Linked DNA regions of Homo sapiens: regions 1, 2 and 3 are each linked to region 4. The links are contacts of gene promoters, found by promoter capture Hi-C in human tissues and cell types (Jung and others, 2019). All regions are on one chromosome and are shown on one strand. Each heading gives the region's core, a stretch centred on a gene start or on the middle of the fragment in contact. The rest is flanking DNA. Distances are from core to core; before and after follow the strand shown. Region 1 overlaps PITPNC1 (phosphatidylinositol transfer protein cytoplasmic 1). Region 2 overlaps BPTF (bromodomain PHD finger transcription factor). Region 3 overlaps BPTF (bromodomain PHD finger transcription factor). Region 4 holds the start of NOL11 (nucleolar protein 11).

Region 1 (2,700 bases), core at 7-2,506, 230 kb before region 4:
ACGCAGCCAGCACTGTTGGTTGTCATGCAATAACCATTCTCCCTTCACCCTTGCTAACGTTTTCTTTCTTTTTTTTTTTTTTTTTGAGGTGGAGTTTTGCTCTTGTTGCCCAGGCTGGAGTGCCGTGGCATGATCTTGGCTCACTGCAACCTCCACCTCCCAGGTTCAAGCGATTCTCCTGCCTCAGCCTCCCAAGTAGCTGGCATTACAGGCATGTACCACCATGCCTGGCTTATTTTGTATTTTTAGTAGAGACGGGGTTTCTCCATGTTGGTTAGGCTGGTCTCGAACTCCCCACCTCAGATGATCCGCCTGCCTTGGCCTCCCAAATTACTGGGATTACAGGGGCGAGCCTCCACACCCAGCCTGTTAATAACGCTTTTCTTCATTCCATTTTCTTGCCTGTGAGATGTGCATAAGACCCAGCTCAGAGAGTTGTTGTTGGTTCCTACTCTCTAACTTTGCCTAATTAGATTTCTGTTAAGCTTGAGATCATTTATAGCCAACTTTTTCCATATTAAAATCATAAGCCTCTGTTGAAAGGTTTTGTTAGTCCAAATTGGAACCGTCTTGACTTCGCATCAAATCATTCATCTCTAGCTCAGTCGCCACATAAGCTTGTATAATTCTCTCAGGGCTTCTGTCATTGTTAATTTACATCTGACCTTGTTCTGAAAACTATTTAAGGCAGTGGAGCCCTAACTTAGAACTTGCTGGCTTTTAACTTTGCCAGTTGGTCTGGACCTGTGAAAATATTTATCCAATCCCCTAAGAAATCAGAGTAAAGATTTTCATGAAAACTTCTAGCCGGGCACAGTGGCTCATGCCTGTAATCTCAGCACTTTGGGAGGCCGAGGTGGGCGGATCACTTGAGGTCAGGAGTTCGAGACCAGCCTGGTCAACATGGTGAAACCTAGACTCTACTAAAAATACAAAAATTAGCCAGGTGTGATGGTGTGTGCCTGTAATATCAGCTACTTTGGAGGCTGAGGTAGGGGAATCGCTTGAACCCGGGACATGGAGGTTGCAGTGAGCTGAGATCATGCTACTGCACTCCAGCCTGGGTGACAGAGCGAGACTCCATCTCAAAAAAAAAACTTCCAAAACCATTTTTACATATTGGTTTATTTTGACTCTTGATCGTTGTGCCAAGAAAGTTGATTATGACTAGCGTTTCCATCTTACAAATAGGGAAATGGAAAACTCAGAAAGGTCAAGTGACTTCCCTGAGGTTGGTAAGGAGTGGTAGAGCCAGGATTTGAACCTGGGCAGTGTAGCCACAGGGTCCTCACTCTTAACCACTTGGCTAAACTGTCTTCATATACGTATGTATGCATGTGTTTGGTTCCCGGTGGTGATGCCATGGGGAGCATTTACCATGAGCGCAGTGGGAAAAGCATGGAGCATGCTGGAAGGCATGGATGCTTACATTTTCATTCCGGATTTGTGGATTTTGCACTAGGGTATCTGCTAGGCCATGAACTAGAATTGTGTACTGAGAGTCATCATTAGTTGGGTGATTTTTTTTTTTTTTTTTTTTTGACATAGGCACTGCTCTGTCGCCCAGGCAGTGGTGTGATCTTGGCTCACAGCAACCTCCGCCTCCTGGATTCAGGCGATTCTCCTACCTCAGCCTCCTGAGTAGCTGGGATTACAGGCACTCACCACCACCCCTGGCTAATTTTTGTATTTTTAGTAGAGATGGGGTCTCACCATGTTGGCCAAGCTGGTCTCTATCCACCCACCTCAGCCTCCCAAAGTGCTGGGATTACTGGTCTCAGCCGCCGCACCCGGCCAATTAGTTAGATCTTTCTACGGAAGAACAACTGACTTGCCAATTTAGTCTGTAAGATCAGGAGTTGAGGGACATTGGAACTACAGAAAAACATTATTAAAGATGACTCTTAAGATGTCAAGAGGAAAGAAAAATGACTTCTTCGGTCAAAAAAAGAGCAAAAGCTATCACGCTGTATGAGCCACAAGCTGAAGGCTGTCTTCTGGGGGCGGCTTAAATGCATTAGATTAGTCTGCAATGTGGATTAAGGGACCGTGGGATTTAATAACTTGCGTATTAAAGAATGGCTCTGCAAATGTTACCCTAACATAAAAATGTAAGCATTCTAATTGAATTTAGAAGCAATAGTATTAAAATTTCTTCTGGTGATGCTCCTTAGACGCATTAAATAAAATATCAAAAGTCACAATTGATTAAACTGAAACTTTAGCATGAGAGTTATTAAGCATTAAATTCTGCTGCTAGAGGTTTTTATTTTATTTTTTCCTGACATGTACTCAGAAAATTCTCCCTTTACATAATTTATGGTCATTCTGCTGTTTAAATGTGCCAAAAAATGTTCTCGGAGTTTTGGCAGTGTTTTGAAATAGAGTATATTATCTTAGTCTTGGGCTATATATATATAATGAACACTCAATATATATTGATGGTGGTGTTTTCATGAGTTGAAGTCTCGCTGTGGGCAAAGGAAGGAATAGGCTATTCTATTACATCTGATGCTTAGCCTGCCTTTAATGAGTAATGTAGAAAAATAGACCTCTTCTTCCTCCTATGGCAAGTCTGTATGTAGTCTTGCTAAGCTTGTGTCTGCCCACAAATCCTAATGAGAAGATGGCATTGATCGGAGATGGTAGCAAAGTACAGCTGGGATACTGCTGTCCATATGTTCCATGGTTCCAGAATTC
Region 2 (2,700 bases), core at 195-2,694, 220 kb after region 4:
CATAATGTTTTGCTGTTTGGGTAGGTGCTCCTCAGCAAGTGATGACTCAAATCATCAGGGGGCAGCCTGTCTCCACTGCAGTCTCCGCCCCTAACACGGTTTCCTCAACACCTGGGCAGAAAAGCTTAACTTCAGCAACGTCCACTTCAAATATACAGTCTTCAGCCTCACAACCCCCTCGCCCCCAACAAGGACAAGTGAAGCTCACCATGGCTCAACTTACTCAGTTAACACAGGGCCACGTAAGTAACATAAGCTTTATTTTAACTTTAGAGGTGATCTTATTTATTCTTGCGGTAAGTTTAAAAACATGAACTTATTTTGATACGTTTTTAAATGTGCTGATTTGAAGAAATGGTTGCTTCCTGGAGTCAAGCAGAAATACCTCTTAGACAGGATATAATAAACCCCAACTACTAGAGTAATCTTTAGACAGTGAGCTAAAACAGTGAGACAGATAACCCTTTTAAACACCAAAATTTTATTAGTTGGCTAATCTCCATGAGACAAATAAAATTTGAGTACATTAAGCTGCTTCCTTGCAAGACTCGATATTGTTAGCAAGTCTTCTAATATTGATTAATAAATTGAATGCAGCTCCCATCAAAATCCCAAGAGGTTTTGTTTTTAGTGAAACTTCACAAGCTGATACTGAAAGTTTATATGGAGGTACAAAGTATTAAGAATATCTGTACCTTTGAAGAACAGGATTATTTGCCCTATATATGATAACTTGATATCAAAACTTAGTATAGGCTGGGCATGGTGGCTTGCGCCTGTAATCCCAGCACTTTGGGAGGCCAGGGCGGGTGGATTGCTTGAGGTCAGGAGTCTGAGACCAGCCTGACCAACATGGTGAAATTCCATCTCTGCTAAAAGTACAAACAAATTAGCTGGGCGTGGTGGCATGCGCTTGTAATCACAGCTACTCAGGAGGCTGAGGAAGGAGAATTGCTTGAACCTGGGAGGCGGAGGTTGTAGTGAGCTGAGATTGCACCACTGCATTCCAGCCTGGGTGACAAAGCAAGACTTCATCTAAAAAAAACCAAAAAACTTAGTATATAATACTTCACTAATTAATATAGTGAGGTACAGACATAAGGAGAGGCAGATAGACCAACAGAACAGTAGAGAGTGCAGAACATGAACCCCATGTATGTGGACACTTGTTATATGACAAAGGTGACATTGCAGATCATTGAGGAAGAGATGACTTTTCAGTAAATGGTGCCAGGACAATTGAATATACATGGGAAACTGTGAAATTGGACCATTATTACCTCACTCTACATAAACTCAATTCCAGGAGGATGAAAGTCCTAACTGTGAAAGGTAAAACTATAATACCTTTAGAAGATAGAAGAATATCTTCATAGCTTTCCTAAACAGATAGAAAATGCTAACCATAAATGAAAAGATTTATAAATTCAACTACTTTAAAAATAAGAGTAAGAACCTCTGTTCATCAAACTCACTACAGAGAGAGTGAAGAAAATGAGAAAAGAACCAACCAAGGACTATTACATATCCAGAATATATAAAGAATTACTACAAATCAAGAAAGAAAAAAATCCAGATAGATCAATAGGAAAAAAGACAAACAGGCAAGGTGCGGTGGCTCACACCTGTAATCCCAGCACTTTGGGGGGCCAAGGTTTTGGGAGGCCAAGCCAGGTGGATCACTTGAGGTCAGGAGTTTCAGACCAGCCTGGCCAACATGGGGAAACCCCGTTTCTACTAAAAATACAAAAATTAGTCAGGCGTGGTGGTGTACGCCTGTAATCCCAGCTGCTTGGGAGGCTGAGGCAGGAGAATTGCTTGAACCCAAGAAGCAGAGGTTGCAGCGAGCCAAGATATACCACTGCACTCCAACCTAGGCAACAGACTCCGTCTCAAAAAAAAGAAAAACAAAAAAAAAAGGACAAACCAACATTATGAGGAAAGAAGAAATCTAAATGTCCCAAATTCCAAAAAACTGCTGAACTTTATTAATAATGAGAGAAGTACATATTAAAACCATATGCTTAAGAGATTGGTACAAATTTAAATGTCCAACAAAACCAAGAGTTAGCAAAGACATAGAGCAGAAAGAATTCTCATGCACAGCTGGTGGGCCTATCAGTCGGTTCAGCCATTTTGGAAACTTCCTGGACATGGTCTGGTAAAGTCAAAGCTGTGTATGCCCAAGGTCCCAGTATACCTTCTAGGTATATCCCTAGAGAAGTTGTTGGCCATGTGAGCACCAGAATACATGGCATAAATATTGGTAGCAGCATTGTTCATAAGAATCAAAAACTAAGAACAACTCAGGTGTCTATCAAAATCAGTTAGCTAAGTAAATTGTAGTATATTCCTACAGCAATAAAAATGAATAGACTTCAGCCACACAGAACTATGCAGATGATTCTCACAAATATATAATGGTAAGCTAAAGAAGCAAGTAGCTGCCAAAAAAAATACATGTTATAATTTCATTTGTATAAGATTCAGAAATAGGCAAAACTAAGCTATTTTGTGTAGGGATACAGGGCTGCTGCATTGCCTGCCTGGAGGGGGCACTATTCCCATTGTATTCTTTGTGAATATTGCTCCTGAGTTTGTGAACCTCAGTGGCCTTATATATACCTAAGATACATACCGAAGTAGTAATGAAATACAGTGTTATCATCAAAGTGAGGATAGTGCTTACCTCTAGGGGAG
Region 3 (2,700 bases), core at 137-2,636, 190 kb after region 4:
GGGATCACAGTTGCACGCCACCATGCCTGGCTAATTTTTGTATTTTTAATAGAGGCGGGGTTTCACCATGTTGGCTAGGCTGGTCTTGAACTCCTTGTCCTCAAGTGATCCGCCCACCTTGGCATCCCAAAGTGCTGGGATTACAGGCATAAGCCACTACACCCATCCAAATTTTATCACTCTTGTTTCAGTTGTCACTGACAATTTTTTTTTTTTTTTTTTTTTTTGTTGACACGGAGTCTCACTCTGTCGCCCAGGCTGGAGTGCAGTGGCGTGACCTCAGCTCACTGCGACCTCCGCCTCCTGGGTTCAAGCAATTCTCCTGCCTCAGCCTCCTGAGTAGCTGAGATCACAGGTGTGCACCACCACACCCAGATAATTTTTGTATTTTTAGTAGAGATCGGGTTTCACCATGTTAGCCAGGCTGGTCTCAAACTCCTGACCTCAGGTGATGCACCCACCTCGGCCCCTCAAAGTGCTGGGATTACAGGCATGAGCCACCGCACCAGCCTATAGTATTAATGTTTATCTTGTAGCTGACTATGTTACTGAATCACAGTTTTTTGTTTTTTTTTTAATTTTTGGACACAGAGCCTCACTCTGTCACCCAGGCTGGAGTGCAGTGGCATGAGCCACCGCACCAGGTCCCCCCCCCCCTTTTTTTTTTTATCCTGCAGTGTTTTAAAACAAATTTCCTAAATCATATTTCACCAAAAATGTTCACAAAGTTTTCTGAAATGTCTGAAGTTCAGGCATTCCTTCTGTGTTTTAGGTCAGCCAGGCATATAGGATTATATGGTACCTTATACTCAATAAGACCTTTGTCTTTTTTTTTTTTTTAAATGAAAAAATGAAACATAACTTGCTGGAAATTACTTGTTTATTTTCACTAAACTTGACATATTAAAGTGCTAATACTCTGGAAATAACGTAAATTATCGTTACATGGTTCTTTTTAGCCAAAAATAATATGGATGAAAATATGGATGAGTCAGATAAAAGAAAATGTTCACGAAGTCCAAAAAAAATAAAAATAGAGCCTGATTCTGAAAAAGATGAGGTAAAAGGTTCAGATGCTGCAAAAGGAGCAGACCAAAATGAAATGGATATCTCAAAGATTACTGAGAAGAAGGACCAAGGTAAGGAGAGTCAGCTGTGGAGGGCAGCCTGGGGGTGATAAGAATGCACTGGATCAGGGTCCCACCACAGGAAAGGTACTGCGTTGTGTTTTCTTGATAACAGCTTTATCAAAACATAATTGATATCCCATACAATTCACCCAATTAAAGTGTAAATTCAGTGGCTTTTAGTATATTCACAAAGTTCAACCATTATTACATCAATCTTAGAACATTTTCATAACCTTGAAAAGAAGCCTCATTCATACCCATTAGCAGTTACTTCCCAACCCCTCCCGAAAGTGCCACCAGCTTAGTGGTCTACTTTCTGTCTCTCTGGATTTGCCTATTTTGGACAGTCCATAGAAATGGAATCAGACAATATGTGGTCCTTTGTGGCTGGCTTCATCCACTTAGCATGGTTTTAAGGTTCATCCATGTTGTAGCATTTATCAGTACTTTCTTTTTGTTTCTGAATAATACTCTGTATGGATATGCCACATTTTGTTATCCATTCATCAGTTGATGGACATTGGGCTGTTTCCTCTTTTGGCTATACGAATAATGCTGCTATGAACATTCATGCAGAAGTTTTTTGTGGCCATGCGTTTTCACTTCTCTTGGCGATATACCTAGGAATGGAATTACTGGATCATATGGTAACTCTGTTTAACCTTTTGAGGAACTACATTGTCTTTTGTAACAAGTCATTTTTAAAAAAAAACTAGATAAGCTAGATAATGCATGTGGCTAGAGATACTTTAAAAAAATATTTTTGGCTGGGCGTGGTGGCTCATGCCTGTAATCTCAGCACTTTGGGAGGCTGAGGTGGGCGGATCACCTGAAGTCAGGAGTTCAAGACCAGCCTGGCCAACATTGCGAAACCCTGTCTCTACTGAAAATTCAAAAATAAGCCAGGCATGGTGGCACATGCCTATAATCCCAGCTACTTGGGAGGCTGAAGCATGAGAATTGCTTGAACCCAGGAGGCGGAGGTTGCAGTGAACTGAGATCATGCCACTGCACTCCAGCCTGGGCAACAGAGTGAGACTCCATCTCAAAAAAAAAAATATATATATATAAATTCCTCCTTTCAGAGTAAAAATTACATTTATATAAATGTCTTTGTTTCACAGATGTGAAGGAGCTCTTAGATTCTGACAGTGATAAACCCTGCAAGGAAGAACCAATGGAAGTAGACGATGACATGAAAACAGAGTCACATGTAAATTGTCAGGAGAGTTCTCAAGTAGATGTGGTCAATGTTAGTGAGGGTTTTCATCTAAGGACTAGTTACAAAAAGAAAACAAAATCATCCAAACTAGATGGACTTCTTGAAAGGAGAATTAAACAGTTTACACTGGAAGAAAAACAGCGACTCGAAAAAATCAAGTTGGAGGGTGGAATTAAGGGTATAGGAAAGACTTCTACAAATTCTTCAAAAAATCTCTCTGAATCACCAGTAATAACGAAAGCAAAAGAAGGGTGTCAGAGTGACTCGATGAGACAAGAACAGAGCCCAAATGCAAATAATGATCAACCTGAGGACTTGATTCAGGGATGTTCAGAAAGTGATTCCTCA
Region 4 (2,700 bases), core at 201-2,700:
ATTGCAGTGAGTTGAGACTGCGTCACTCCAGCCTGGGCGACAGAGCAAGACCCTGTCTCAAAAAAAAAAAAAAAAAAAAAAAGACATCCTCTCAAGGAGGCCTGTGGTCATCCTAGTGAAAATTTCACATACACAGACCACTCCTTCCTCCCCCACACACCCACGCTTTATCTCTCCCTTCTGAGTTTAATGTTTTTCTTCTTACCACCTATCACAAAGTAAGTTATGAAGCATAATAATAAACTATATCCTCTTGATCTCACAACCCAGCCTAAAAATTAAAAGATTATCAGAGTTCAAGATCACCTTGGGCAACAAAGCAAGACTCCATGTCTGCAAAAAATACAAAAATTAGCCGGGCGTGGTGATGGATGCCTGTAGTCCCAGTTATTCGGGAGGCTGAAGCAGGAGGATTGCTTTATTTAGCCCAAGAGTTAGAGGCTGCAGTGAGCCATGATAATGCCACTACTTTTGAACAACAAAAGACCTATTAGCATTATAAAAATAGACTGCATTTGATTCCTTCACAGTAGCTGGATATTCTCCTTTTGCCCATGTCGTCATGTTGGGGCAATGAGAAACAACACACATGGCGATCTGGTGGATGCTTAAATCTAAACTGAGGCACTTTGTCACACTGGGTACATTTGTTTAGTAATTGCCTATTAAATGGTTTCTCCCTAAGAACATCACAATTTATCTTTACTTATTTATTTAACATTATTGATTGAATCTGCCATGCTTATCTGAGAAACATACATTTCTCCCGGAAATAAAAACCTTGCCAAAAATCACACAGGGGACCTTCAACTTCACCTTCATCAAACTAGTCTGAATTTCCTGTAAGCTGAGGAGAGATTTTCCCCACTGGGGCTCAGAGAAGGGGAGTCAGAGAACTCAGAAGGCCTGAAAGACTGAAAAGACTGGAGATCTCTAGAGGGTTCCAAGAAACTTGGGGGGAATTAAGCATTTCACGTAGGAACAGCACGTTATTGGGAGTTTACCTACAGAGATAAATATTTTTTCTTTGGCAGATCGTTCCACAAGGCCATGGATGGAATTCCTAGGGAGTTCCCTTGCAATTAAAAAAAAAAAAATCTAGCTTATTTATATTCGACCACTCCCTAGACCCATCTACAGTCTCTCAAGTCCCCACCTAGAACAGCACGCAGCCGATTCAGGACCCAGTAAGCAGCACTTCCGCGCCTACCCTATCCCTTCCTGGAGCACATCCGGGACTCGGCGAGGCGTGGTCTCGGGAGGCGGAGTCTGACGCAAGCCGGCCCAGCCCACCTGGCTAAATTCACAGTCGCGCTCGCTCCTTCCGCCCGCCAGAGGTCGCAGGCTGCGAGAGCAGGTTCCTGGTTTGGCAAGCACTCGCCCCCTCAGGCCCGTTCATTCTCGCGAGAGAAAGCGCGAGGCCTGCCGGGAGTGAGCGCGGCCGTACTTAGGTTTGCTCAAAATGGCAGCGCTGGAGGAAGAATTCACGTTGTCTTCGGTAGTCCTGAGCGCCGGGCCTGAAGGACTCCTAGGCGTGGAGCAGAGCGACAAAACAGACCAGTTTCTAGTGACAGACAGCGGCAGGACAGTCATCCTCTATAAGGTGAAGGCAATAGGTTTGGGAGCGCCCCGACTGCCTTCTCGCCCCTTTCTGAGCGCGGAGCTCGAGCTCAAGTTTCTCACAGCTTCAGAAAGAGATCGTGGAGAAGGCTTAGCAGAGAGCCGGCTGGGCCTGTTGGGGACGCTGAGTGAGGTCTGGAATCTGGCTTGCTTGCCTTCCTGTAAAGGCATATTTCCGACTTGCAGGGGCAGAGCGTCTGAGTGCACGTGGGTTAGACTCGGAAAAGAAAGAAAACCTGTGCTTTTGCTTCGGAACTCGCGGAATTGGCCTTGCTAAGATTCCCTCCTAGGGTCTTTATTATCTTAGCCGCCCGCGGGAGGATGGAACGGAGATTGGTTGGGCGGGAGAGGATGACACTGACAGAGTGGGAATAGTGGTTTAGCCGTGTCTACACTTCACACCCCTCTCTTTGTAGGGGCGGGGACAATTTTAGAGAGTGAGGGACTTTCTTGATAGCTCGCTAAGAATCTTGCCTCCAAGTGAGTTGTCTGTTGGCATCTCTGATTCACGCTGGGAATCCTGGAGTTGAGTCCTGGGAAAATCTGCAAGCCCTGCCCCCATTTCAGCCTAAAGCCTGATAGAGAACACTTTCTAACCTTGCTTTTGGTGGTCGCATAGAAAGCAGTTACTTTTCTCTGGGCTGCTGAACATAGTTTTCCATGTTTTAAAGAAGTTAGGTATCTGCTTTGACGTTTTGAGAACAGGTTGCTAACAGCTCCCTGTGCCGTTTTGACTCTGCTAACTCTATTGGGTTTCACTTGGGATGTCAAGTAGATTTGCAGTTTTGCAGCTCCTGCATAGGAATACAATGGCAGATTGGAATTGGATAGACATGATCCCAGATGTCCCTACTTAATTTCCCATGCCGCTGTTCAGAGGCATAACTTCCCATGCAGAGGCATAATATAATCAATTTTTAAATGTACTATTGTTTTTTTAACAAAGGGTTGCTTATTTACTTATTTAGGAACTTAGTTATATTTTCATTTTAACTACCCTTTTAGAGGTTTGGCCGGACGCGGTGGTTCACGCCTGTAATCCCAGAACTTCGGGAGGCCCAGGTGGGTGGATCACTTGAG

The links. Contacts are between HindIII fragments. The study calls those that stand out against the background at their distance.
Region 1: a contact is called between a fragment that was not itself captured here and the fragment with the promoter of NOL11 in region 4, in 1 of the 25 tissues and cell types used here (lymphoblastoid cells).
Region 2: a fragment that was not itself captured here is called in contact with the fragment with the promoter of NOL11 in region 4 in 1 of the 25 tissues and cell types used here (H1 embryonic stem cells).
Region 3: a fragment that was not itself captured here is called in contact with the fragment with the promoter of NOL11 in region 4 in 1 of the 25 tissues and cell types used here (small bowel).

What each region holds. Positions count from the first base shown.
Region 1 is chr17:67,483,851-67,486,550 of GRCh38, forward strand. All of the region lies in intron 1 of PITPNC1 (phosphatidylinositol transfer protein cytoplasmic 1), which reads left to right. Among named protein-coding and RNA genes, the nearest start is that of MIR548D2, 14 kb to the left of the region's middle. The HindIII fragment of the contact is 4,234 bases long and covers 1-2,700 here.
Region 2 is chr17:67,940,415-67,943,114 of GRCh38, forward strand. BPTF (bromodomain PHD finger transcription factor) reads left to right here. Exons shown (of 28, transcript NM_182641.4): 19 at 25-242. Among named protein-coding and RNA genes, the nearest start is that of C17orf58, 55 kb to the right of the region's middle. The HindIII fragment of the contact is 4,368 bases long and covers 1-2,700 here.
Region 3 is chr17:67,908,623-67,911,322 of GRCh38, forward strand. It overlaps BPTF (bromodomain PHD finger transcription factor), which reads left to right. Exons shown (of 28, transcript NM_182641.4): 10 at 960-1,139; 11 at 2,255-2,700. Among named protein-coding and RNA genes, the nearest start is that of BPTF, 84 kb to the left of the region's middle. The HindIII fragment of the contact is 6,108 bases long and covers 1-2,700 here.
Region 4 is chr17:67,716,486-67,719,185 of GRCh38, forward strand. It overlaps NOL11 (nucleolar protein 11), which reads left to right and starts at 1,451. Exons shown (of 18, transcript NM_015462.5): 1 at 1,451-1,603. The coding sequence starts at 1,463. LOC101928045 (a long non-coding RNA gene) reads right to left here and starts at 1,193. Exons shown (of 4, transcript NR_188294.1): 1 at 1,157-1,193. RefSeq lists enhancers at 1,362-1,441, 1,512-1,701, 2,624-2,700 and a silencer at 1,972-2,061. The HindIII fragment of the contact is 26,229 bases long and covers 1-2,700 here.